Regions from separate parts of the Homo sapiens genome. Here all the other regions are linked to region 6. The links are contacts of gene promoters, found by promoter capture Hi-C in blood cells and fetal thymus (Javierre and others, 2016). All regions are on one chromosome and are shown on one strand. Each heading gives the region's core, a stretch centred on a gene start or on the middle of the fragment in contact. The rest is flanking DNA. Distances are from core to core; before and after follow the strand shown. Region 1 has its middle 6.7 kb from the start of TTC7A. Region 2 overlaps TTC7A (tetratricopeptide repeat domain 7A). Region 3 holds the start of MSH6 (mutS homolog 6). Region 4 overlaps TTC7A (tetratricopeptide repeat domain 7A). Region 5 overlaps TTC7A (tetratricopeptide repeat domain 7A). Region 6 holds the start of EPCAM-DT (EPCAM divergent transcript).

The links. Contacts are between HindIII fragments. The CHiCAGO score rates a contact against its expected background, and 5 or more counts as called.
Region 1: a contact is called between a fragment that was not itself captured here and the fragment with the promoter of EPCAM-DT in region 6, in 1 of 17 cell types (neutrophils). The highest score is 5.4, in neutrophils.
Region 2: a fragment that was not itself captured here is called in contact with the fragment with the promoter of EPCAM-DT in region 6 in 1 of 17 cell types (neutrophils); the score reaches 5.1 in neutrophils.
Region 3: a contact is called between the fragment with the promoter of MSH6 here and the fragment with the promoter of EPCAM-DT in region 6, in 9 of 17 cell types (M0 macrophages, naive B cells, naive CD8 T cells and 6 more). The highest score is 12.3, in M0 macrophages.
Region 4: a fragment that was not itself captured here is called in contact with the fragment with the promoter of EPCAM-DT in region 6 in 1 of 17 cell types (neutrophils); the score reaches 5.7 in neutrophils.
Region 5: a contact is called between a fragment that was not itself captured here and the fragment with the promoter of EPCAM-DT in region 6, in 1 of 17 cell types (neutrophils). The highest score is 6.1, in neutrophils.

What each region holds. Positions count from the first base shown.
Region 1 is chr2:46,932,833-46,936,303 of GRCh38, reverse strand. It overlaps a transcript of MCFD2 not described here and a transcript of TTC7A not described here. Among named protein-coding and RNA genes, the nearest start is that of TTC7A, 6.7 kb to the left of the region's middle. The HindIII fragment of the contact is 2,102 bases long and covers 764-2,865 here.
Region 2 is chr2:46,953,538-46,956,806 of GRCh38, reverse strand. All of the region lies in intron 2 of TTC7A (tetratricopeptide repeat domain 7A), which reads right to left. Among named protein-coding and RNA genes, the nearest start is that of TTC7A, 14 kb to the right of the region's middle. RefSeq lists a silencer at 1,383-1,677. The HindIII fragment of the contact is 2,718 bases long and covers 470-3,187 here.
Region 3 is chr2:47,781,677-47,785,029 of GRCh38, reverse strand. It overlaps MSH6 (mutS homolog 6), which reads right to left and starts at 1,885. Exons shown (of 10, transcript NM_000179.3): 1 at 1,537-1,885. The coding sequence starts at 1,796. RefSeq lists silencers at 1,103-1,192, 1,393-1,552, 1,833-2,312 and an enhancer at 2,443-2,512. The HindIII fragment of the contact is 5,497 bases long and covers 228-3,353 here.
Region 4 is chr2:46,977,351-46,980,685 of GRCh38, reverse strand. It overlaps TTC7A (tetratricopeptide repeat domain 7A), which reads right to left. Exons shown (of 20, transcript NM_020458.4): 5 at 1,779-1,894. Among named protein-coding and RNA genes, the nearest start is that of TTC7A, 38 kb to the right of the region's middle. The HindIII fragment of the contact is 9,377 bases long and covers 1-3,335 here.
Region 5 is chr2:46,994,372-46,998,174 of GRCh38, reverse strand. It overlaps TTC7A (tetratricopeptide repeat domain 7A), which reads right to left. Exons shown (of 20, transcript NM_020458.4): 7 at 3,661-3,803; 8 at 2,976-3,039. Among named protein-coding and RNA genes, the nearest start is that of TTC7A, 55 kb to the right of the region's middle. The HindIII fragment of the contact is 5,728 bases long and covers 1-3,803 here.
Region 6 is chr2:47,342,810-47,346,327 of GRCh38, reverse strand. It overlaps EPCAM-DT (EPCAM divergent transcript), which reads left to right and starts at 1,254. Exons shown (of 5, transcript NR_110208.1): 1 at 1,254-1,427. The HindIII fragment of the contact is 13,271 bases long and covers 1-3,518 here.

The sequences.
Region 1 (3,471 bases), core at 565-3,064, 410 kb after region 6:
TTTCCTCTTACAGATGCACAACAAAAAAATGACAAGGATGAACACAGACAAGTAGTAGCGTTGTTAGTAATAAGGCAGATATCCACAAGGGGGAAAAGATTTTCAAATATGGTCAGATAAAGAGTTCTTTATTGGTAGAAGAGAAAATAAGCTCAGTATTTGGGAAGCTAAATAAGCAAATATATTTATTTCTTATTATTTTTTATGTTTTTAGAGACAGGGTCTTGCTCTGTCACCTGGGCTGGAGTGCTATGGTGCAATCATAGCTCACTGCAGCCTTGAACTCCTGGGCTCAAGCCATCCTCCAGCCTCAGCCTCCCGAGTAGCTGGGACTACAGGCACACGCCACCACCCCTAGCTATGTTTTCTAATTTTTTAAGAGACTGAATCTTGCTATGTTGCCCAGGCTGGTCTCAAAACTCCTGGCCACTAGCAATCCTCCCACCTCAGCCTCCCTAGTCTCTAGGATTATAGGTGTGAGCCATCACACCTAAAAGAAAAATTAAAAAAAGAAATTGGAGCTTGGGTCCAATACAAGACTTGCATCTCTCATTGTTTCAGTCTGAAAGAACTCCAAGCAGGAAGCTTAAGAGCCTCAGAGGATCACCCTGTTTCCGAGTCAGGGGTCTTGGACTGCAGTGTTGAGGAGGTCTCAGTTGGATCACTGCGGGCCTCAATAATTGAATGCTATCTAGAAAAGTAAATGTACACATTTGGGTGACAGCAAATACCATCAAGACAATTTTTGTGATAACGCAAAGCTTAGCTTGTTCTCATGGCAGGAAGGGAGAACACTACCCTGACAGAGTCATAGCAGTGTCTGGAATAGGGAAGGCAAAGTTGGAATAGTTATGAAGTGTTGGGGTCTGTTTTGTTTTTTTATTTTTTTTGCTTAAGCTCAGTGGCAAGAAAGGAGTTTATTTTAAAGCAGCTCTTCCAATGACGGGACTTGATTAGGACTGGGCAAGGATCATGATACAACAGTATCATAGTTCACTGCAGCCTTGAACTCCTGGGCTCAGGATGAAAGAGTGTGGGGAGGAACAGTTGTCATGGCTCACATTTGTAATGAGCTGTTCCTCCACACACGCCTGACCCCTTCACAGCTCTTTTCCAGCAGGGACAAGCCTTCAGCCATCTAGTGACCAACGCTTCTCAGGGGTGTTGGTCTAGTAATCAAAGGCCTTAAAGACCAGTAGTCTTAGGGCTCGGCGTGGTGGCTCACACCTGTAATCCCCACACTTTGGGAGGCCGAGGTGGGTGGATCACGAGGTCAAGATATCAAGACCATCCTGGCCAACATGATGAAACCCTGTCTCTACTAAAAATACAAAAATTAGCTGGACGTGGTGGTGCGCGCCTGTAGTTCCAGCTACTCAGGAGGCTGAGGCAAGAGAATCGCTTGAACCCGGGAGGCGGAGGTTGCAGTGAGCCCAGATCATGCCACTGCACTCCAGCCTGGCGACAGAGCGAGACTCAGTCTCAAAAAAAAAAAAAAAAAAAAAAAAAAAAAAAAGAGCAGTAGTCTTCATACCTTATTCCAGGATTGGGATTGTTGGGATAGGGCAAAAGTGATGGTTTTGAAGTGCGGGTTTTTTTGTTTGTTTGTTTTTGTTTTTGAGACAGAGTCTCCCTCTGTCATCCAGGCTTACTGCAACCTATGAGGGGAGGGTTTTTAAAGTGTTTTAGAGAATAAAAAGCAGTTTGAGTCTATCTATTGAAAAGTCACAGGCCGGGTTGGGTGGCTCACACCTGTAATGCCAGCAATTTGGGAGGTTGAGGTGGGTGGATCACTTGAGGTCAGGAGTTGGAGACCAGCCAGTTCAAGACCAGCCTGGCCAACATGGCAAAACCCTGTCTCTACTAAAAATACAAAAATTAGCTGGGCGTGGTGGCATGCATCTATAATACCAGCAATTCAGGTGGCTGATGCACAAGCATTGCTTGAACCCGGAAGGCAGAGGTTGCAGTGAGCTGAGATTGTGCCACTGCACTCCAGCCTGAGCAACAGAGCAAGACTCTGTCTCAAAAACAAAAGTCATCGAGTTCATTTAAATGGTTTCTTCTGAAAACTTCTGCAAAAAACAGTGAAGTTATTTACAACTTTTATCATCCTGGGTAAGAGTTTCCTGCAATAGTAAAGCCATGTCAAGGTCAACAGTACCTTAGGTGTAGATGGTTTCTGTTCTTCCTGTGTACTGACTCAAAAATTTATTATGGATGATTATTATGACATTCTCCTCGCCTTCATCAAATCATTCTTATACTAGTTGTCACAATGGCTGTGAGTAGTTGGGCTGGAGGTCACCAAGTGCTCCCAGCCATCAGAAGTAGAGCACCAAGCCTAATGAGATGCCCTCCCCACCTTCCACTCTGGCCTCTTCTTTCATACTTACCATGTGGGGTCCCTTAGAGCCCTGTGTTCCCAGCACATGCTAGATTTCTGACCAGTGCTCTGACTTTTTTATGACACTCCACCTTGCTGTCACCCTAGAAATCCTAAATTTAAATATAAATTAAACATTTGCTTCATGATCAACAGTCATTTCAGCCACTCAGATCATCAGTATATGCGAAGTAGAGCACAATGACAACTGCCTTCCCAACTTTATGTAGTCATGTGCATGGCTCAGGATCGCTACATTCGGAAATCAACTTTTACTCATTACCATGATCATTGGCTCAGAGCACATCCTGCCCATGGTATCTTATGTCTTACTTAATTTCAATACTGAACCAGCCCTCCCAGAATGTTGTCATTAAAACTCTGCCAGGAGCTGGCTATATGGTCTTTTCCTTTGTCAGCTGCCAGAAAAACTACATGTAATCATTACGCTAAGAGATGAAGTCCTACAAAGGCAAGCTTCAGAATCATGAATTCTTTGTGCTTGCACATAGTAGACACTCAGTAATTATTTGTTATATTAATTTTAGAATCTCAGAATGTTGAAGATTTTCCCACACTTGGAGATGAGAGCTTTGGGGTGTTTTTTATCCCCAGCCACTCACTTCATGATTGAGATACCAATATCTCTCCAGGCACTGCCCTCCCTCCCACCATCCCAGTCCCTTCTGTTCCTCGGGGTCCCAGGTGACTCTTAATTCTTGTTAGTGGCTTCTATGTCATTTTGCAAGACTGCTACAATGGGCCCCTCTCCAGAGCAGGAGCCCATGATTTCTCCATCTTGCCCAGTGCTGGTTCTCTGCCCAGCTACTGCCATCCTGAGGGAGAGAAGCCATCCCAACCCACAAGGGCTCAGAGCCTTTTCAGTGCAGCTTAGCTGGTCTGGTTTTAAGTCCCATCACTCCTAAGGCTAGCCTTGAGTGTCTGGCCACTCAGAGATTATAGCAGTTTTGAGCCTTAAAATATATCTTTGCTCCATCTGTTTTTTTTTTTTTTTTTGAGATGGAGTCTCACTCTGTTGCTCAGGCTGGAGTGCAGTGGTGCGATCTGCGCTTGCTGCAACCTCT
Region 2 (3,269 bases), core at 579-3,078, 390 kb after region 6:
CCCCAAAGTTACCTTGGGGTGAACACCCCCACTGAACCTGGACCTTGTTTGCCTCAGACCTTGCTCAGAACTCCCCTCCTCCTCCAGAAAGCCTTCTTTGATGCTCAAGCACATGCCGACAGCTCCCCGCTCTCACCCATGGTCTGCAGCCTACATTGTGGTTCTCAATAAAATTCTCCTATGAGTCCCTAATTGTTTCATGTGTGTGCGTTTTATGCCCCCAGCAAGACTCCAGAGACCTTGCAGACTAGGCCCTGTCTTCCCTCTCCTGAATCCCCCCAAAGACTGCAGCCCCAGGGGGCACTCAGAAGCTCAGGCATTTATTCTAAACACAAGTGGGGAGTCAGAGATGGAGTTAAGTTTTGTGGAGCCCCAGGCTTCTCATTTTGGGAGTCCTCTTGTGTACATGTATATGCAAATCATAATTAGGTGAAAGGCCTTAGAAACAGCCTGTGAGGACCCTAAAGCTTATGCCTCCCCCTACAGTGGCAGAGGGACAGATTGAGGAGGAGAGGGCCTGCTGCGTCACCATCCTCTTCCTATCAGAAATGGGTCAAAGTGCAGAATCACGGAGGCCAAGAGTGGCTGAATTTAAACGTGTTTTCTTTCCCCTCCTTTTTCAAAAGTTGCTTACATCTCAATCTCCATCCCACAGAGGAACTCTCAGGGCCTCCCTTAGGGCCTGCAGTGGTCTTGTCAGCCATGATCACCCCTACTGTGGCTTGGGATCCTGTGCTGTTGCCTGAGGGAGGCTGTGCTGGCCCTGGGCTGTGCCACCCTGGCACGTGAGTTCTGACCTTGGACATGGCCCCAGTTCTCCTTGTAACCTCCCGCCTCTGCAGGCCATTTGCTCTGGCCCCCTGCCTCTGATCCTGTCCTCAGCTGGCTCACAATGCCTATGGGCCAGGCCCTGGGCACTGCTCCCGCCACACAGGCACCAATCTGTCCATAAAACTCCCCGAAGATGCAGCTCTCATCCCACACCTGGCATTTGTCACTGGCAGGAAGGTGCTACCCCTGTCTCCCTGTAGGGAGGTAAGAGTCTGGGGTCCCTGTGACCCCAGGGCAAGCCTCCAGCACTCCTTACCATCTACTGCCCTCTCAGAAGCCAAGAGAAATGAAGCGTGGCACAGACAGGCTCTGGGGAAGCCAAATTCACCTTCCCAACTGGTCCTTCTGGCCTTTGTAAATCCACATTCCTCTTTTGCCTGTGCTTCCTCAGGTCCCCTTCCCCCTGGCCTAACCAGGTCCTCTTCTATCCTTTGGGGCCTTGCTCAGGCCCACCTTCTCCTGAAAGCCTCCTTGACTACCAGGGAGCTCCCTTCAGCTGAACTCCTCCAATGCCTCTACCAATGGGCCCATTCAGCCTCTGCACGCCTGACCTGCTCTCTCTATTAATTAACTCTCCAAAGCTGAATCTTTTGAGGGGATTTGCTAGTCTTCCCAGATAGGCCATCCACTCCCTGGGCCAGGGCCACAGATGACACATCCCAGAGGTATGTGGCCCACAGTCCTTCCAAGCTGGGCAGTGACTCTGCGTTCCCTGCACTGGTCTCAAGCCACGGGCTCATTTCCTCCCTGCTCGGGCTGCGTCTTCCTCGTGGGTGAGGGAGAGATAATAACACCTACTCCTCACTGCCTATCACAGCGATGCTGAAGGCATTAATAGGGCAAAGTCCAGAAAAGAGCTTTGAACTTTTCTTTGGAAAAGAGCAAGATAAATACAGGGTATGCGTATTTATCATTATCCTGCACATGGAGACAAGGGCAGTGAGGCAGAGAAGGACATTTCAGGCATGCTGATGGGGTGTGGCTAGTGGCGGTTCCTGGAGGACCAGTGGCAGTTTACAACAGAGCTTCCACCAAGCTGGGGAAAAATTAGACAATGCAGGGCATGTTTTATAAAGCCACATTTACACTATTTAAAAAAATGCTCGGCCGGGTACGGTGGCTCACGCCTGTAATCCCAGCACTTTGGGAGGTCGAGGCAGGCAGATCACCTAAGATCAGGAATTTGAGACCAGCCTGGACAACATGGTAAAACCCGTCTCTACTAAAAATACAAAAATTATCCGGGCGTGGTGGTGGGCGCCTGTAATCCTAGCTACTTGGGAGGCTGAGGCAGAAGAATCGCTTGAACCCGGGAGGCGGAGGTTGCAGTGAGCCAAGATCGTGCCACTGTACTCCAGCCTGGGTGACAGAGCGAGACTCCGTTGTCTCAAAAAAAAAAAAAAAAAAAAGGCTCTTAGTTCTGAAAGGATATCTACCTTGCCCTTTCAATGCTAAACTGTTTTTCTGTTATAGCACAGTAAGAGCAGAAGATGGTATCATTTTGCTGCTATTTTTTGCTTCTTAATGTCCTTACTTGGCAACATTAAGAGTCCACTGCACTCTGTGGGGCCCATGCATTTGAATGTGAAATATTCTTGGTCTATCAGTACAACAGTCAGGGAACGGAACCCCTTGCCCAGTGGGAGGGTGCCACGGGGGAGGTCGCTTTACCAGAGGAACAATCCCCTCTACTGTGTGGATCAGCGCATCACCTACTCCTTTTGTGCCTCACTGTCCCTGTCAATAAAAGGGGAAAAAGGACTTCATGGAGATATCCAGGTATGAGGAAAGAACGGATGAGGAAATACTTCACAGACTAACGTGGGAACTATAAAAGTGGGGGTGTGATCACCATCTTTCACATGAATCCAACTTTCCCAGTCATTATTTTATTTCCACCCCAGTACTCTGGGAGGCAGTACCAAGAAATGAGAGACAGCATTAGAGCATGGGCTGTAGACACTAAAGGCCTGGGTTGTGATCACCTTTCTTGGGTCTCAAGAGATGGAGCTTGGCAGGGCACAGTGGCTCACACCTGTAATCCCAGCACTTTGGGAGACCAAGGCAAGAGGATCGCTTGAAACCCAGAATCTGAGACCAGCCTGAGAAACACAGTAAGAACTGTGTCTCTACAAAAAATTGAAAAAAAAAAAAAAGAAAGAAAGAAAGAAAAAGAAATGGGGCTAATAGTAAATACCGTTGCAGAAGGTTCCTTGGAGGCCTGCATGCGATGGTGCAAAGCCTCAACCTAGTAGCAGAACAGAGTTTAGGACAAGTGGCTTGTTTTCACTGATCTCCACACAACTGAGCTGGACGGGGTCTTAGAGAGATAACCAAGAGGAAAGGGTTTCAAGCTTTCCCAAGGAGGGGCCTCAGGACCCACCTCTCCCAGCTCTCCTTCTCATCCAGCAGAGCTACTTGGATGCACAGGAATCCAC
Region 3 (3,353 bases), core at 636-3,135, 440 kb before region 6:
CAACATAGTGAAACCCGTCTCTACTAAAAATACAAAAATTAGCCAGGCGTGGTGGGGCGCACCTGTAGTCCCAGCTACTTGGGAGGCTGAGGCAGGATAATCTCTTGATCCAGAGACAGAGGTTGTGGTGAGCCAAGAACGCGCCACTGCACTCTAGCCTGGACAAAAGAGCAAGACTCTGTCTCAAAATACATATATATGTATCTGGCAAACAGCAAAAGCAAGCTTTTCAAAATGTCGCCAGCTGCCCGGATAAAAAGCCCTAAACAGACCGGGCGCGGTGGCTAGCGCCTGTAATCCCAGCACTTTGAGGCCGAGGCGGGTGGATCACCTGAGGTCGGGAATTCCGAGACTAGCCTGACCAACATGGAGAAACCCCGTCTCTACTAAAAATACAAAATTGGCGGGGTGTGGGGGCGCATTCCTGTAATCCCGACTACTCGGGAGGCTGAAGCTGGGGAATCGCTTGAAGCCGGGACGCGGAGATTGCGGTGAGCTGAGATCGCGCCATTGCACTCCAGCCTGGACTTGAGCGAAACTCTCTCTCAAAAAGGAAAAAAAAAAAAAAGCACTTAACTGCCCATAAAGTGAGGACAACTCCCGACAGGCTTCCCCGGAGTCACTCACGTCCACACATCTTTGTCCAGCGCCCGATTAAGGCCTCTAAAAGCCCAGTGGTGCCCCATAAAAATTACACTATTTCATAAAATAAAATATTTTCCACTCGACACGAATTTCCACATACGTCAAAATATTCTATCTTCGTCTCGGTGCACGTGCAGCCTACCTACCGAAGGACCCAGCCGGATCCCAGCACTTCGGCTCCCCACGGCCCCGCCCCGCCCAATTAGGCCCCGCGGTCCCCATGGTGACACACCCCCCCGCGCTCGCAGCTCGTGGCCCACCCCCTCGGCGGCCCCTCACCTAGGCCGAAGGCCCACCGTCCCCAAGGCGTCTCGGCGACCGCGGCTCTTAACTACCTCTAAGTGTCTACCTCGATCGACTACTGGAGCCCCAACTCACTATCTCCGCGCCGGCCGAGGAACCTCCTTTCGCACCCCACACCACCGGACTCTCCCCGTTCGGCCTCCCGCAGGCATTCCTCCTTCCCGCCACCCCGCCCCCCGCCCCGCCCACCAAGTGGGCCGGGCGCCTTCCCCTTCTCGCCCCACCCCCAGTGCTCCCACCTCCCAGGCCCCCTCCCCACCCGGAGCTGCGCGCGTCGCCCCTTCCTTAGCCCAGCACCCCCACCTGGCGGGACGCGTCTCCTCCCTCCAAAAGGCCCGAACTCTCCGCGTCTCCCCTGCAGCCCTCTTCCTGCACAGCCTCTCTCCTCCGACCCTGTTTACAAGCTACACCCCCAAATGCTCCAGACTCGACCCCTGCACTCATTCAAGCCAACTCTGCGGCCCCGCCTCCTCCGAGCCCAGGGCCAGGCCGTGCACCCCCCCAACCCCCTGTGCGAGCCTCCCCTCGCCGGGTTCCAAGCGCCCCGCCGCTATGCCCCCGCCTTCGACCCCACCCCCACCCCGCTACCTGGTGGGGGCAGCAGGCGCTACCGATCTCCGCAGCCCTCCGTTGAGGTTCTTCGCCTTGGGCGGTGACGCGGAGCGCGCCAAGGGCCTGGGCCCAGGCCCAGCCTCGCTCCAGGCCGCATCCCCGCCTGGGGAAGGAGAGGCCCCGGGGGCAGCGGCGGCACGGCCGCCTTCGCGTGAGGCCCTGGCCGAGGCCTTGTTGGCATCACTCAGCGCCGGAGACTTGGGGAAGAAGCTGTACAGGGTGCTCTGTCGCGACATACCGACAGCCGGCAAGGCCCAACCGTTCTGTCGGACGGAGCTCCTAAAAGCACCGCATCTACCGCGCGGCTCCTGCTGGCGGGAAATCTGGGGGGAGGCGCGCTCCGCCGGAGGAACCCGGGCCCCAGTGGCCAATCAACAGGCGCCTCGCCGTGCGCGGGCGGTGCGCGCCAGGCCCCGCCCCCGGGCGCGCGGCGACGTGGGGAAGGGCGGGGCTGGCACACTGGTGGGTAGGGGCGGGGCTGGCACGCTGGCGGTGAGGGGCCCGCCCTGCCGCCGACGCCTGGGCCCCGCGCGGGGAACTGCTGAGCTCCCCTTCCCTCACGCCGCGGGGCTGGCCGGGCCGGAACACTCCGACCCGGGGTTAGTTGCGGCCGCGGGGCTAGCAGGCTCGGAAAGCCCTGCCTCTCTGGAGCGGAAGCGGGAACAGCGGGGGCGCGCACCGCCCGGGCGGGGATAACCGGGGGGACCCGAAAGGCCTCGGAAAGGGGCTCGCGGGGAGAAACGCGTCCAGCGCTCGCGTGACCTCCTGCCGTTAGAGCATTTTCGCAAGGAGACGGAGCGAAAGGGACCAAACTTTAGTCAGCAGTTCACCTTCACGTTGTATTCTCAAGATTTGTATAGAGTAGGCACTTGGTAAACGCTAAATGAATATTGTAATAGCATTCGTTAGCGATGCTGTTGTGTATGGTGAAAGCCTGCAGCTGTACAAAGTTTTCCTTTGCCAGGCACTGATCCCAGCATTTTACATCTGGTAACTAAATCGATCCTCTCAATAACCTGTGACGTAAGTACTTAAGGGCCACAGTCCGTTATCTGAGCCCTTTGACCCAGGTGTGTCTTTACAGGATTTTTCAAATTTTAGAAAGCTAAGAGACTATGAGAGGCCGGGCGCAGTGGCTCACGCCTGTAATCCCAGCACTTTGGGATGCCGAGGCGGGCGGATCACCTGAGGTCAGGCGTTGAAGACCAGCCTAGTCAACATGGTGAAACCCCCGTCTCTACTAAAAATCCAAAAATTAGCCGGGCGTGGTGGCATGCGCCTGTAATCCCAGCTACTTGGGAGGCTGAGGCAGGAGAATAACTTGAACCTGGGAGGCAGCGTTTGCAGTGAGCCAAGGTCGCGCCACTGCACTCCAGCCTGGGCGACAAGAGCGAAACTCCGTCTCAAAAAAAAAAGAAAGAAAGCTAAGAGGCTATGAGAATAAAAAGGTTCTATTCAAATTCAAGAAAGATAGTGGAAGACAGACAATTGTTTGTCCCCTTATCCAGATTGTGAAATCCAGATTGCCGGAAACCAGTCACAATCAACAGCTGTACATTGGTAAAAACCTATGTAAAATTAGTTGTTTGCCTTGTTCTTGGAGACTGTTCTGCCAGAAGGTTCTCCTTTGCTAGGCAAGTAATAAAATCAATCTAAAAAAAAAAGGCGGGGGCCGGGCGCAGTGGCTCACGCCTGTAGTCCCAGCACTCGGCACTTCGGGGGGGGGGCGGAGGTGGGCGGATCACGAGGTCAGGAGATCGAGACCATCCTGGCTAACACAGTGAAACCCCGCC
Region 4 (3,335 bases), core at 215-2,714, 370 kb after region 6:
ACTCCTTCCATTTCCCCTGCCCCAGCCAGGGCCCAGATCAAGCCTGACGGTTAGCATCAGAGGTGAATTTAATTGTTGGAAACCCAGCTGGTGTCAGAGAACTGGTTGTGAGTCGCGGAAAAAACCCCACATTTGGTCACAGAAATGACCTGTGTTGTATTGAGTATAAAGTAGGGCCAGGCACAGTGGCTCACGCCTGTAATCCCAGCACTTTAGAAGGCTGAAGCGGGAGGATCACTTGAGTCCAAGAGTTTGAGACCAGCCTGGGCAACAAAATGCAACTCCCTCTCTACAAAAAATTAGCCAGGTGTGATGGTGCATGCCTGTTGTCCCAGCTACTCAGGAGGCTGAGGTGGGAGGATCACCTGAGCCCAGAACGCAGGAGGTACAGTGAGCCATGATCACACCATTGCACTCCAGCCTGGATGTCAGAGTAAGATCTGTCTTTAAAAAAAAAAAAAAAAAAAAAGAGAGAGAGTATAGGGTAGAAGAAAACAGTAAGTTTGCTTTATCCTACTAAACAAGTACCATATGCAACAATCATGTATTCAAAAGCATGTAATGAAAAGAATGCATAAAGTGAAATGTAACAAAATAAATCACACTAAAAATGGCACACAGGCCTCAGAGAACTCCAGGCAGTCAGTGACAAGAAAGCTGTGTGACCCTGACCTTGGTTTCCTTGTGTGTGAGGAGGTGGTCACACCTACTGGGCCTGACCCATGGCCATGGAAGGCTGAGTGAGGCAGGGCGTGACTACGCACGGGGGACGGCTGCGCTTGGCACCTATGGGTCTGCTCCTCTCGTCAGTGATGTCCTCCAGCCCCAGCCCACTGTGTCTGTCTAAGGTTGTAATGACGCAGAGGAAGGGGCCCAAAGCCTCTGCTGCAGAGACAGGCAGGAAACCTCAGCTCCCGCCTGGGAGTCCCCAGACTGGTGGAGATGTTGCCAGCAGACCGGACCAGTTGCGGAATAGCCATGAAGCGACACTTGCTGCCAATACGCACTCCTCATCTTGAATCTTCTCCTTCCCCTGCCACCACCCAACACACCCCATGAAACAACCACTCCCGGCCTAACACCAGCCACCCCCTCGACTATTCAACAAGGCAGGTCTTGCTTCACCCAGGAGCAAAAGCCTACGGAAGGCATTCCAGGCACTATGGTTCTTAGGTCTCAGATAGGCCAGTATTCCAGGGACCTCAAGACAACCCACAGGAAAACAAGCACTTCTGCTGCTTCGTCAGCAGGGACAGCCACAGCCCCAGCGTGACGCCAGAACTTCACTTCTACCATACTTTCCCTCGTCCTTCACCACTCCTTAAAAGCCGGAATGAACAGGAATCTGCCTTCCCATTGGGTTTTTGGGGAACGTGAGGCTCAGAGGAACCAAATAACTTCATTCACACTGCAGACAACAGTAGACAAAACCAGACCCACTGGCCAGCTCACTGTCCTTTGCTTTTTCAACATCACCTCCCAGATGCCCTCCACCCTCCCCTCTTGAAATGCCCACTCCTGTTTCTCTTCTTGGCAGTCTCCCCCAAGCACACACAGGCTTTATTGCTTCTGTGGCTTCCTGAAGCGTGGCCCTTCCCACTAAGAACGTCTCTGCACACTCCTGTCTGACAAGATGTGACACAAGCCAGTTCCCACCAATCCTCTTGGAAGAGCACGTATGCACAGGCCAGAGAAGAGGGAGAGCAGCCTTAAGGCCACGTCAAAAGCCTCAGCCCAGGGGAATCGTTCTCCCACTCACTCAACTACCAGTGACCTACCCCTTCTTCAGGTTTTTCACATAGGCGCTCTGGAGGGCAGCTTCCAGGAAGTAGGTGAGCTCATAGTCAAGCGGGTGACAGCCTTTCAGATGCCTCGACGTGCTGTTATTTGTGGTCTGGGAAGGGAAACAGAGAGAGAGCCATTGTCTCAAAGTTCTGAGGCAGAGGGTCACTCAGCAAGAGGAGGTGGCCTCATCACCATCCCAGTCCCAGTTGTTCAGGGGCACATTGTTGCATTCTCAGACCAGGCTTGATCTAACTCGCTTTAACTCAAAATATGTCTAAAGCATTCTCTCCCCATCCAACCGTTAGATGCCCACAAGCCCTCTGTCTTTTTTTTTTTTTAAGAAACAGGGTCTTACTATGTTGCCCAGGCTGATCTCAAACTCCTGGGCTTAAGCAATCCTCCCACCTCAGCCTCCCAAAGTGGTGGGATTACAGGCATGAACCACTGCACTAAGCCCCTAACATTCATTCAACAATCACAGAGCTTTAAATTCATTAGCTCATTTAGTCCTTAGAGCAGCTCTATTAGGTAGGAACTGTCATCATTTCTATTTCACCGGTGAGAACAGAGAGGGTCTCTTCCTGCCCCAAGGCCACTAACGTGGCAGGTGGTGGCGGAGCCAGGCAGTCAGGTTCCCCTCTCCACTCTTACCCTCTACTGCAGGAGGACTTCTCTGTCTGTCCAGAACCATGCTGAGCACTCACTCTTCAACCAGACAGCACTCACTGCCTGAGCACATGGTAGAGAGACCGCTTCACGCAGCACTGCTTCCCTGTTCTGTGTATGCAAACCTCAGCTCCCACCAGACTTCACTCCCACAGGACAGGAGCTGTGTCTCCTGAGTCTCACTACTGTCCATGCCCCACCTCCAGTTAAGGAAAGAGAAGGGGAAATGAAACTCTTAGAAAATTGCCACCCAAGCCCAAATCTTACTTATGCCTCACAACGGTCCTACAGGGCTGGTTTTGTTTGCATTTTATAGATGAGGAAACTGAGGCTCAGAAAATGTCTAAGGTCAAAAGTGTCAATTACAGATGTGGTGGCTCACGTTTATAATCCTAGCACTTTGGGAGGCCGAGGCAAGAGAATCGCTTGAGGCCAGGAGTTCCAGACCAGCCTGGGCAAAAGAGTGAGGCTCTGTCCCAATCAATCCATCAATAATAATTTAATGCCTAAGATCACAAAGCTGGTGTCAGTCCGGACCTCAAACTCAAGCCTAGCCAGGTATGGATTCCAAGCTATTTCTACTATGTATCAGTTAATTCATTCCACAAACATCTAAGTGCCTGCTATATGCCAGGCACCGTACTGTCCCTCTCAAACAAGCATGGAACGTCAGAACATCCAGAGAATTGAGAGCCCTCTGGTTCCAGGAAAAGCTGAGGAACAATTACCTCATTAACTGAGCTGTTGCTTAAAAGCCTCAGCTCTAACAGGGTCCTCCTGCCCAACCAGACAGGCTTGCCTTCTGTATACCATTTCCTTTGTCTAATCTGAGGGGAAAAAAAATCAATGAGGCATCCACCTCCTCTTTCAGAATCCAGAGGAGA
Region 5 (3,803 bases), core at 1,135-3,634, 350 kb after region 6:
AAGAGGTGCCTCCTCCCAGCCTCAGTGCAAACAGCGTCTGGGCAGTGCCTCTGTTTCCTATGCCACAGGGAATCTCCCAGGACACCACCTGGCCAGCCAACCCAGACTCACCCACCCCATAACCCCTAGTCTCTGAGGCAGGCTGCCAGCCACACTGTCTTACAAAAGGGAAAGAGCTGCTTGGAGGAGATCGCATACTCAGGAAAACCCACCTGGCTCCAAGCACGGGCCATGTTTCTGTAAAAGGCCATTCTCCACTTGGAGGGTTTGGGGGTGGGTGGACAGCCTTAACTGAAAGGCATCTGAACTCTGTCCTGAGGACTCAGATCAAGCAGAGGCTACAGAAAATGACTTGGGAAGACAGAGCTCAGCTTCACTCCTACCAGGAGAAAAATTATGACCATCCTCACCCTGACAGGCTTGTCCCTTTTACAAAGCCCTCTGATCCCCAAAGTCACCTCCTTGGCCTTTTACACTTAAGAACAAGGATTAGAGCAGTGGGCAAGGGAAGTACCAGGATGGAAGTCCAGGAGCCCTGCGTCCTGGGGCTTGGAAACTGCTGAGGGAGAAGGACATGTTCGAGTCATGGCTTCAAGGCTTATTAGTATATGACCTTGACCAACAGCCATACCTGTCCTGGACCTCACTTTTGTCATCTGTAAGATGGGAACATACAGTATTAGACTGAACTATATGAAACTGTTGTTTTTGCAGGTCATAAACAATTGAAAATTGGCAATTTCATATGACTCAACATAATGCGCACCTAATCAGCTTGGAACCTCCCTAGCTGAGAAAGGACCTAACAGACGACCCCGTTTCCAGCCTTTCACCACCTACCTGTAAATTGCACTGGAAGCCTCAGTACACAAAGGCCACAAAATAACCGGTGTTTAGGCCGGGCACAGTGGCTCATGCCTGTAATCCCAGCACTTTGGGAGGCTGAGGCAGGTGGATCACCTGAGGTCAAGAGTTCATGACTGGCCTGGTCAACATGGTGAAACCCCGTCTCTACTAAAAATACAAAAATCAGCCAGGTGTGGTGGCGCGCACCTGTAATCCAAGCCACTCGGGAAGCTGAGACAGAAGAATCGCTTTAACCTGGGAGACAGAGGTTGCAGTGAGCCAGGATCGCACCACTGCACTCCAGTCTGAACGATAAAGGGAGACTCTGTCTCAAAAAACAACAACAACAACAACAACAACAACCACCACAAAAAAAACTCTGTGTTTCCAGACAGATGATTCCAGGGCAGTCTCACTGGAGGGTGAACGTGGTGAAATGGCGGAGAGGGGATGGGAATACTGGTCTGCATCTGGGGTTCCATATTTCAAAACTAGGATTCAGTCTGTGGTCAGAGTAAGGGCCCATTTTAAAAAGTAAAAAGCACACTGTTCTCCCATGAAAATCAGATGTGGCACATGGTCCCTGTATCTCCACAGCTGCTAACCAGCGAGATGGCCCCTCCCCTGGGCAACCACTTACCCACCTCACAGGCAAACATTTTAGGGCAACACCCTGGCCAGCTGGCACTCCCATCCAAATATCCACACCCTACACAGAAACTCTCAGATCCAACATGGACCAGCCCCAGCTGAGGCAGGATGCAATCCCTCTGCCCCACAGGCCAGCGCCTGCTCCTATTTGCTGGGAGGCCTGAGGCACCAGAGGCAATCTGATTACCAACGCTATCTAAGCAAGCCCTGGCATCGCATGGTCCCAGGCATCCAAGGGAACATTCACTTCTGGCTGTTCAGGGATCCAGCTCACGGGATCTTGGTTTCTTAACCTCCATATCCATACACTGCTCTCAGATGCGTCGTTTTTTTAAAAACCTATTTCTCAACCTGGTGGTTCCCAGCTCACCAGCTCTGATGGGCCCCTTGGTCGGAGGACTTGGACCTGACCATGTAGATGACTCCTGTGTGCTTGGCTTCTGATGCTCCTGCCCCACTCTTCCTGTGCCCCCTTTGGACCAGTCCAGTCCATCCTTCATCTTACCACCTCCTCAACCACACAGCCACAGTGCACTCTCCTTTGCTGAGCACCCAAAGTGCTTGGCCCTGGGCAAACATTCCTTGGTACCATGGCCACCATATGTGTGCAAGCACGAGTGTGTGCGTGCATCCACGTGCTTGTGTTTGCCTCATCTTCCTGCCCAGGACATGAGCAATGGGTCCTGTAGAAAAGTCTAAACAGCCAACTTCATGTGTGCTTTGTCTAGCACGATTTGTCTTCTCCTCTGTGTTCTTTTCCCATAGCATTCACGCGTGGACATCCTGCATATTGTAGTTTTTGATTAATTTACTGCCTGCTTCCCTTTACTAGAATGTAAGCTCCACGAGGGAAAGGACTTTTCTCCATTTTGTTTGCTGCGGCATCTCTGGTGTCTAGAGCAGGGTCTGGCACAAAGTAGATGCTCAATAAATAGCTGTTGCGTGAATAAATGAACTCCTTCCATAGGCACACTTACCTTTGTGAGTATTGTTATATTACAGGGGAGAAAACGGAGGCTCAGAGAAAATAAGTGATGTGCCCCAGCCCTCAACTAACACGCAGAACTGGAACCTGATTCCATGCTTTCTGACTCCAAAGTACACATTCCTTCCATTCCCTACCTGCCATGTTCTCAAATCTGTCACAGCACCCAACACACAGCTATGTAACATTTTACTGTGACCTTGTTGATGATCATCTTTTTAATCCCAAAAGAGGTGGGTGGGGACTTAGGCACTCAGTCTCTACTTATTTGGGGGCAGAACGCAGGCCTCCAAATGAAGCCTTCGACAGCCAATTCCAAACCTAATGAGCAAGACTTGCTGTATGGGGGCCCAGGGCCAAGAAGCATCTACTTTAGGAGTATCCCTGGGAGACAGAGTTTGGCTAGGTCACGGGTGGCCTGTACCTGGGCCCCACAGCCCTTCCCCACAGGGTCAGAGGGCCAGAGGCCCCTGAAGGACATCCTGGAGCTTACCATGGATTCGCTGATGAGGAGGAGCAGGAGGGCTTCCTCGATGTTGTCCTTGGGGCAGTAGAGGCTGAAAGACACCAATGACAGGCCTGGCTAGAGCACACACCTCACCAGACAGCACCACTGACCCACCATGCCAGCCTTCTGCCCCAGAGTCAGCACCAGCTCGGTAAGGTGACCTCTTCCTGCATAATTCATGGGCACCGGATACCATATGCCCCAGAGTTATGGATCTGAAAGGCTGCGGTGGGTGGTGGCTGCTGGGCTGGAATAGTACGGATTCTCCCAGGGAGGAAACATTCCTCCCAGCACCAGCACTGCAGGGAATGGCTGGGGCAAGAAGCAGGGAGAAGCCAGAACTACGCTCTGCTGGTTGGCTACAGACCGCACCTTCGATGAATGGCACAAGCGAGAGAGAGGTGTATCAGACAAGACTACTGGGAAGACAGGTAACTTCTAAATGATTTCTTTGGTCTCCGAGTGCCTTATAGGATTATCTCCACAACCTGGACCCCAACACCTGCCTTCTCTAGTTCATCTGGCTCCTGCTGAGACTGAGGAGGCTGGCTGGCAGTGTGCTGAGTGGAGACTGGAGGAGAGCATGGGGCAAAGAGGAAGCCACCAGTGGGGACAGAACCCTGCGTGAGATGTGAGACTGGCAAGGTGCAGCAGGGCAGGCAGAACTTACTTGTCTCCTTCATAGAGGTGAGGTTTCCGCAGGGCCTGAGTGGCGAAAGAACTCTCCTCCTTGCCCATGAACTCAGGCAGAGGGTGGGACAGGGGGCTCCAGTAGCACTCCTCACTCAGGGAGTGCAGCAGGACCCCCGCCAG
Region 6 (3,518 bases), core at 5-2,504:
CTGGCCTCCCAAAGTGATAGGATTACAGGTGTGACTCACTGTGTTCAGCCTATTGTAGGTAAGTATCTCCATTACAAAAACAAACAAAGAAACAAACAAAAACAAAATTAAAGAAAAGTGGTGCCCTCAGAGCTAATTACAGATTAATTAAACAACCATGAAAAACCTTATATCTGCCTAGCTGGCCATTTTTAAAACTGGCCTCATAATGAGTATTTTCGCTCTATAATTGGGAAAGCATCGCCAGGAGTCTCAGAAGAACATGCAATACCAAAATTCCTCTCCATCAGCCACAAGAGAAATCAGAGAGGAACAGAAGCAGGTAGGAGACAAAGGCAAAACTCCTAATAACAAGACAAGGAAAATAAACTCAACACTGAACTACAGAACTAGAATTTTTATTCCTTTTTCCTTGTTTTCAAAAATTTAAATTAACAGTCTGTTCAACAGAGATTTGGTTTCTAAACTGCATCTAGCTCTCACTGTACCCATGTGTGTGACAGAAAGAGAGAGAAAGAGTAACAAACGTTCCAAATAATGGAAATCATCATAAATGGAAGCTAGGGGAAGCAGTTTCACTGTACCCAGAGGAAATGGATTCCACAGCCATGCAAGGACCTGAATCTCTGTCCGGCTTTCACCTTGTCTTCTTGACTGGCCTCGTTGTCATGACATTTGCAATTTTTTTAAACAACATCAAAGAACAAAAACTATCTCCCTTCTCACCATTGGTCGTTACCTGATACCCATTTATCAGGGAGCATACTTTTCTGTAATGAATTTATTTCAGCATAGGGACAGCAACTTAAGGCATAAATGCTAAGATGGAGGCAGAAAGGAAAGAGGTTCGCCCAGAGATCCAAAGGAGAAGTGGGAGGGGAGACTCTGAAAGGCAGGGAAGAACCCCGAAAGGAGGGGCTGGGGGCTCGAGCTGGTTGTGAAAGCCTTTCCCCTTTACGCTTTGCTCTCAGTGTGGCGGGCAGACTGGATGACCAGGTGCCTTAGAGGTTCTCACAGGCACCTTTGCTTACTTAGTCCTTTTACAGCTCGGATTAATGTTTAACTTCCTTTGGGAAAGATCAAAAAACAAAGGCAGAAACTCACAGCCGGGTAGCCGTGGCATCCTCACCCCAGGGCTAGACTCTACAGCTCTTGCTCTTTGTCCCCAAGTCTCCTCCCCTCTCCTTTGTCTCCAGGCCCCAGGGGAAGGCTAGAGAATGATCACGTGGCCGGGATGGGGCTGTGTTCCTGGCAGTCCCCTGGGCTTCCTGCAGGGACCTGGATTCTTAGTATTTCAGGCTGCTGTCCCTTTTTTTTTTTCATTTCCTTTTTGTTTTTGTTGTTGATGTGACCGCGTGTCCACAACCCTGGGATTCCCTCGCCCTCAGATTCCAGAATCCAATTTCTTGGATTTCAGTGTTTTTAAGGTCAGTGGAAACTTTTTTAAAAAGCAACATTAAGCTAATATATTCTTACTGCAGAAAAGGAGCTTTGTTCTATTTATCTCTAAAACTGATGCTCACTAGTAGTTCTCAGATTTGGAAAGGTATTTGTACTATTTATTTATAGGAGCATTTATTTATAGGAAATACTGGCTGGGCGTGGTGGCTCATACCTATAATCCCAGCACTTTGGGAGGCCAATGTGGGCGGATCAGTTTGAGACCAGCCTGGCCAACATGGCAAAACCCCGTCTCTACTAAAAATACAAAAATTAGCTGGGCGTGGTGGTGAGTGCCTGTAATCCCAGCTACTCCGGAGGCTGAGGCTGGAGAATCGCCTGAACCTGGGAGGCGGAGGTTGCAGTGGGCCGAGATCGCGCCATTGCACTCCAGCCTGGGCGACAAAAACGAAACTCCATCTCAAAAAAAAAAAAAGGAAATCCACTAGATCGAGGTGCTTGGAAAAACAACCCATCACTAAGGATCCTTCCCTTCCTCTTCTCCATTAATACCACCTTTGTAAAGATTCCCTCCGGTACCACCCCAAAGAACTGAAGTGCAGATAATTATTTCCCAGAATGTTGTTTTTACGCTGGTGAAATTCAACGGCAAACATTTTACTAACACTCTCCTCCTTTTCCTACCTGAGGTATTAAAACTTGGAGTCAGCCTGGGTAATATTTTATAGGAAAATGCTCTTCATCACTGTACACCTGTGCCTACCATGGTACCTGGGGCATCTAGTAGGTGCCAGATAAATATATATGTACATTTTATATATATATATATATATATGTATGTATGTATATATAGTTTTTTTTTTTTTTTTTTCCCGAGACAGAGTCTTGCTCTGTCACCCAGGCTGGCATGCAGTGGCGTGATCTTGGCTCACTGCAACCTCCGCCTCCTGGTTCAAGCAATTCTCCTGCCTCAGCCTCCCAAGTAGCTGGGATTACAGGCACGCACCACCATGCCCAGCTAATTTTTGTGCTGTTAGTAGAGACGAGGTTTCACCATGATGGCCAGGCTGGTTTCAAACTCCTGACCTCAGGTGATTCGTCCACCTCAGCCTCCAAAAGTGCTGGGATTACAGGCACGAGCACTGCACCCTGCCACAGACAAATATTTACTGAGGGAATTAATGAGAAGAATCTGGGAGAAAAGAAGAAAGCAGAGATTTCTAAAATGGAAGAATTTCCCCTAGAATTATCCAGAACTGACTGTGTAATAAAAGTACACTTTTTCCTTCTTTGCTTAGCTAAGTATTGGGGAAACATTTAAAATTATTAAAAATAGAGGGAGTTTCGGGAGCCTGAAAAGTCTTTAGACCCCAAAACTGCTGGGATCCTAGGCCTTAAGATTCCAAAGAAGAGATGCTCTTAGACTTGATCCTGCCTGCTCACAGGCTCAGAGTGGACGTGGCTACTGGCTTATCTTAGGTCTAGAAGAATTAAGTGATTGCAGTATGCTCAGCTTAAAAAGTTGTCATGAACCTGGGGATGGAGTAGAGGGGGTTGGTATTTAGAACATCCTAACCACCCCTTTCTGCTCTGGTCTAGAAGGAGGCCAGAAACATTTCATAAAATGTTGTACAAAGTAGCACTCCCAGAATCCTGGCTGTTCAGCGAGGCAGTGCCGGCTGCTCAGTTGAGCATGGCCCTTTGGATTCACACGGACCTAAGTCCAAATTCTATCTGTGTCCTGAGCTGTTTAGCCTGATAAAGAAAAGTAGACACTGGGCCAGGTGCAATGGCTCATTTCTGTAATCCCAGTACTGTGGGAGGCTGAGGCAGGTTGATCACCTGAGGTTGGGAGTTTGAGACCAGCCTGACCAACATGAAAGAAACCCCTTCTCTACTAAAAATACATAATTACCCGGGCGTGGTGGCACATGCCTATAATTCCAGCTACTCGGGAGGCTGAGGCAGGAGAATCGCTTGAACCTGGGAGGCGGAGGTTGCAGTGAGCCGAGATGGCACCATTGCACCCCAGCCTGGGCAATAAGAGCAAAACTCTGTCTGGGAAAAAAAAGAAAAAAGAAGAGTAGACACCATGAGGCCTGGTAAGTATTAAGCTG